Regions from separate parts of the Homo sapiens genome. Here region 1 is linked to region 2. The links are contacts of gene promoters, found by promoter capture Hi-C in human tissues and cell types (Jung and others, 2019). All regions are on one chromosome and are shown on one strand. Each heading gives the region's core, a stretch centred on a gene start or on the middle of the fragment in contact. The rest is flanking DNA. Distances are from core to core; before and after follow the strand shown. Region 1 overlaps GRIN2B (glutamate ionotropic receptor NMDA type subunit 2B). Region 2 holds the start of GRIN2B (glutamate ionotropic receptor NMDA type subunit 2B).

The links. The method cuts DNA at HindIII sites, captures the fragments that hold promoters and counts their contacts. A contact is called where the count stands out against the background at its distance.
Region 1: a fragment that was not itself captured here is called in contact with the fragment with the promoter of GRIN2B in region 2 in 3 of the 25 tissues and cell types used here (liver, mesendoderm cells and pancreas).

Annotation. Positions count from the first base shown.
Region 1 is chr12:13,857,696-13,860,395 of GRCh38, reverse strand. The region is part of intron 3 of GRIN2B (glutamate ionotropic receptor NMDA type subunit 2B); the gene reads left to right. Among named protein-coding and RNA genes, the nearest start is that of GRIN2B, 120 kb to the left of the region's middle. The HindIII fragment of the contact is 9,169 bases long and covers 1-2,700 here.
Region 2 is chr12:13,980,174-13,982,873 of GRCh38, reverse strand. It overlaps GRIN2B (glutamate ionotropic receptor NMDA type subunit 2B), which reads left to right and starts at 1,272. Exons shown (of 14, transcript NM_000834.5): 1 at 1,272-1,532; 2 at 2,518-2,700. The HindIII fragment of the contact is 12,156 bases long and covers 1-2,700 here.

The sequences.
Region 1 (2,700 bases), core at 132-2,631, 120 kb after region 2:
GATTGCACCACTGCACTCCAGCCTGAGTGACAGAGCGAGACTCTGTCTCAAAAATAAAATAAAATAAATAATAAATTGCTTCTTTGGGAATGGATGCTTTCAATAGCACTTTTCATTTTCTGTACTGAGAGCCACATTTTGGAATCTAATTGGGGATAGGAAGATGGCCCTACTCTTCTTTGGCTTCATCCTCTGGCCCTCTTCCCCTATCCTCTACCCCCACTTGCTTAATGACAGTGGGTTTGGAGAGAGTAGATGGGCTGGCAGTGGTGTGTGACACTGGGAGTAGACTATTGCCTTCCCTTGGCTCATATGGATTTGCATATCCAACATAATCTTGAAACCAAGATGGCTACATGTTACTCATGCCTTACCCTACGCTTCTTCACTAATTTCTGGTGTCTGTTAGATTGTTACCTTGCTTTTAGTTGTCTGTGATATAATATTCCTCGGGACAGAATACTTTGGGAGAAAACTGTAATGTTATGGCATTTCTTGGATGAAGGGTATTAAGACATAGAGGTAGGAAAAGTGAGAGGAAAAAAACTAACATAATATGTCAATTTTGAACCAGGCATGATGTTAATGAGCATTTTAATTCTTATGCAATCCCATGAGGGAAGTAGTAGTATTTCTTCTTTCTTGATGGGGAAACTAAATCAGAGAGCGTTTATGTATGTTGGCCAAAGTCACACATCTACAACAATAGTGGGACTGAAATCTGAATTCAGACATGCTTGACTTTAAGACTTTTTCCCAGTGCATACGATGAGGGAGTAAGAAAAAAAAGCCAGGACAAAATTACCTGGAGTTCAGTTTCTTCTCTCCAATTTTCCCTACTTGAACTATATTTTGGGGAAAGATGGGTAGGCAGTGCTCTCTAAGGCACTGGAAACTTTGTAGTGATGTAGCTCTGTCTGGCTGGCTCTTTCCACCTGCTTCTGTGAAATGTGTTTCTTGTTGGCCAGCACATCCTGTCTTTAAAAATTGGAGCTAGGATTTTCTTTAGGAGCAGTGTTAATGCTTGTAACAATTGAAGCCCAGAAATTGCTTCGACATTCATAGAAATACAGGCACTTGGTGCTGGAAAGTAACACACCAGCCATCACTTGTCATACATTTTCCAGGGACGTGATGGTGTCTAAAAGAAGGTACCAGCACAAGGAGAGAATGCAGACTTTGGAGTCAATGGGCTTGAGCTCTATTCATTCTCAGCCATGTGACCTTAGTTGGACTCTTCAGACTCTCTGAGCCTCAAAATCTCCTTCTGTAAAGTGAAAACAAAAATAACACCCAGCTTATAAAGGGTAGCAAGCCTTATGACGCAATGTACCCAGTGCATGGTAGACAGTTGGTGCTTAGTATATGCCATCTTGCATTCTCAAAAACCAGACTTGTCCTAAATCACTTGAGGAAAATGGATTCTAATTTTTCCTATTAACAGAAATAGAAGATTTGGGGATGTTAACCTGCTTCCATTTAGACATGGTGGATAAACAACAGCTCAGTAGGTTCCACCTCTTTGGTGATGCAATTACTGATATTGACTTGATCAGAACTTATCAGGATTTTCAAAGCAGAGACATAAAGTGATTTCAACAAACTGATACACATAGGATATAAGCATTAAAGACAAGTCAAGATCATTTTCTAAAAACATAACGGAATAAAATAGTGTTTGAATCAGAGTCACTCATAGATTTGGAAGTGTTAATATGTTAAAAAAAAGTGAATTATTACATGAAGAAAATATTCGTGGTACTAGGTGGGAAGTAGTAAAATGTTACAGATACAAGAAAACATAAATTTACTAAATATTGCCAGCCAATTTTTACATCACATTGATATTGCTGAAAAAAACTCCCTGAATTATGAGTTCTATACAAAGAGTATATTTTTAGTCCCCTTTCTGAGACTTCTGTGATTCTTTTTGTCTTACTGTTAGATCTACATTTTATTCAAAATTGTATTTTGATTCTGTAGTTTAAAGGTCTAGCATGCAGGAGAGTAACATTAAAGGTGGTTATTTTTATTCTACCTTTCTGAGTACAATAAAGGTTTATTGCTATAATTCTATTTTACACGGACAAAGAAGATCTAATTATTGTAAGTTATTTTGAGGTTATGATGAGAAAGACTGACACTGATCATTTATTTTTTGTCAAACTCTGAGTTAGTCACTTTATATGAGCTAGTCATCTTATATATTTTATCTCATTTAATGTTTTCATTGAATTTAGAAGGCACATATTTTATCTTTATTTTAGAGACAAGGAAACTATAGATCAGAGAGGTTAACTATGTTGTCCAATACCTTTAGGTAGTGATTTGCTCACCGTAGCTTAAACAAATGAGTCTGTGGGTGTCTCAGAACAAAGAGTCTAGAGACAGAGGCTGCTGGGGGTGGTTCACTGGCTCAGTGATGTCAGTACTGACATCTGGGGTTCGCCTGGCATTTTGTCATGGTTGGAAGGTGGCTGCTCCAGCGTTAGTCATCCATCATGCTCATACTTAACGAAGGAAGAAGAAGTGGGTTGGTATTGGATTAGAAGAAGTCTTCCCCACATCCTTGATTTCATGAGCCCAAACAATGTCACATGGGCAACTCTGTGGACGTTGCAAGTCTCTCTGGTGGAGGTGACAAGGGGGGAAAGGAGTGGGAATGGCTTTGGGGCTAGTCAACAGACAGTGTAGTCAACA
Region 2 (2,700 bases), core at 23-2,522:
AGCCCATGATATAACCAATATGAAAATGTTCCACCACTGTAGTATTCTAGATATTTGAAAAGACAATGGATGAGAATGAAAATGATGCATATACAATAATATTAATGTTAAAAGTAAACAATACTACAGGTGGTGATAAGGGCTATTAAAATATAAAAGAGTTCAATAGGAAGAGAAATGAATGGATGTTTGCCTTTTCAAAGAGGGTGGGTTTGTAAATGCCAGGAAATCCAGTTTCCTTTAGGGATTATTCACGGGCCTCACCATCTTCTCTTCTCAAGGCATTTAAATAACAGGATCCACTTTAATAAAAAATGTCAAACTCCTCCCGCCTTCACTAGCAGCCAGAAAAGCACGCGTATGGTCCATACTATACAATTTAGCCACGAATGACACCTGCTTTGCTTTGTTTTCTATTGTGTTAGGCGTCAGCCTCGTGTGCTCAGATAGATCTTAAGCTCCTTGAAGGCAAGAAAGAACCCGGTCCCAGACTGCGTCCGACACACAGAATGCTCGTAGGAAGCACAGGCTGATTTATGGAAAATACAGCAAGGGTCTTCAATTTCGAACTACAGCTCCGCCTTGGAGATGCTTTCCGCAGCCCGCGGGCCGCCCACGGGGGGCACTGTCTAGCTCCCCTCGCCCCTCAGCCGCTCTCCGTCGGTGCTGTTCCCCGCTGCGGCCGGGAGGAGGCGCCACGGACTCGGGCTAAGCTTCTTCCCCCTTCCGTCCCCCTTCCATCCACCTTACCACCCCACTTCCCCAGCACATGACGTGGGAAGCTGCCTCCGCCAGAGTCTTAGCAAGAGGAGTGAGGGGGTGCAGGGGCTTGGGGGTGGGGTGGGGTGGGGGGTGTGGAGAAAGAGGACACGCGCGCTCACACCCGCCCCTGGGAGCAGAAGCAGTATCTTCCCCAGCTTCGTGGGTTTCTCCTCCCCCCGGAGTCAGGGTGTGCGAGGTAGGGGGTGTGTGTGTGTCTGTGTGTGTGTGCGCGGCACGTTTTTGAGTGTGAGACCCAAATCCAGACCAGGCAACCTGCGTTCCCCGCGCCTCCCCCCGTCCCCGGTGATTAATACCCATTTTTCTGACGCTCCCCTCCTCCCCTCCTGCTCTCCCTCTCCGGCTGCCGCGCGGTTGACTTGCACAGCCTGCCCCCGCCCGCTTCCCTTCCCCCGGCTCCGATCCTCACCAACTGGAATCTGGGCTCCTGCCTCTCCACCCCCCACCTCTTTTTGAGAAAGGAAGGTTCCCCCCACCCCCTTTCAAAAACCACTTCCTCCGGCTTCTTCACCTCTAGGAAATCTCGGGGCTTCGCTCTATCGAGAGTGCTCGTCAAGGGTGATTCTTGATCACCACCATCCAGTAGTGCTGGCGTCCGAATGCATATCCTTTTGCCTTGCAAAGAAGAGTCATGAACTTCAAAACCCCCGAGACGGATCATTAATCCTGCTTTGCAGGAAAGGAAAACCCTCCATTCCCAGCCACCGGCCACCCCTCTCCGCAGACTGCAACCGCGGAGGCGCTCGGAGCCGGTACGTAAAGATGGGCTTTGGAGTCTCTCCTTTGAATGTAGGGGTTTGGGGGTGTCAGGCAGATAAAGGGTCGAAGCCGTGAAATCGTGAACGAATCTGGCATGAGGTAAAGCTCTGAAATCCAGCAGAACCCGGCACTTGCTAATTTGGACGTGGCTTTTTTAAAGGTTTTTTTTTTTTGTGGGGGAGGGGGTGCTGTGACTGGGTAGGGCTGTCTCTGGTCTTTTGGGGGGTTTCATCCCTTCACCTAGCAGAGGGGCAGGGCAGCGGCGCCCCGGGCCGGACCCACGCGCCGAGCCCATCCGTCCAATCGACACGTTGCAGGTGAAGCCCCGTGCGCTGCACCTCAGCGCGGCGGCAGCGTGAGTGTGCGCGGGGGTGAGTGTGCGCGGGGGTGAGTGTGAGTGCGCGCGGGGCGCGTGCGCGTCGGGGGCGTGTGTGCGCGCGTCAGTGTGCCCCTTCCAAGAAATGCCCAGTGTGCACCCCGTGCACAATCAGAACCCATTCAGCACAAGCCCGGGGTGGGAGGCGGCGCTGCTGCTGGAGGCGATGGGGAGAGCGAGCGAGACAAGTCAGCAGCAATGCAGATGGGGCTGGGGGCCGCACTCGCTGGCGAGTTAAGTGGGAATTGTGTTTCTGCGTGTGTGTGAGTGTGTGTTGCTGTATGGTGCCGCTTCTCCCCCCCTTCCTCCTTCCTTCCCACTTCCCTCCTTCGCTCGCTCCCTCCCTCTCTCCTCTTCCATTCAGGTTGGCTTTCCCACCTCTCATCCGTGCCTGTCCCAGGAATGGTATAGCCAGACCTTTTCTGAATTATTTATAGACCGGTACCAGCTGTTTTCAATTCCTCTCGTGTGCACTCTGTGGGAAATGCGGGGTTTCCTCCCCCCTTTCCTTAAAACGAATTGATATCTTTTTCGGAATGCATTTTTCTCACCCTCCGGGGGACACGCGAATCAAGCCCTGACCGCCTCTTTTTCCCCCTTAGGAAGGGGACGCTTTGGGAATGACCATGCTCCACCGAGGGACGGAGCCGGCCCCCAGCTTCTCCACACAGAGCCTCCTCCACTAACGCTCCAAAAACCAAAAACCGTAATTGCCAGAAGAAGCGTTAAAAATCTATTCCAGCCACTAACCTCACATGCACACGGAATAATTACTCTGGATTCTG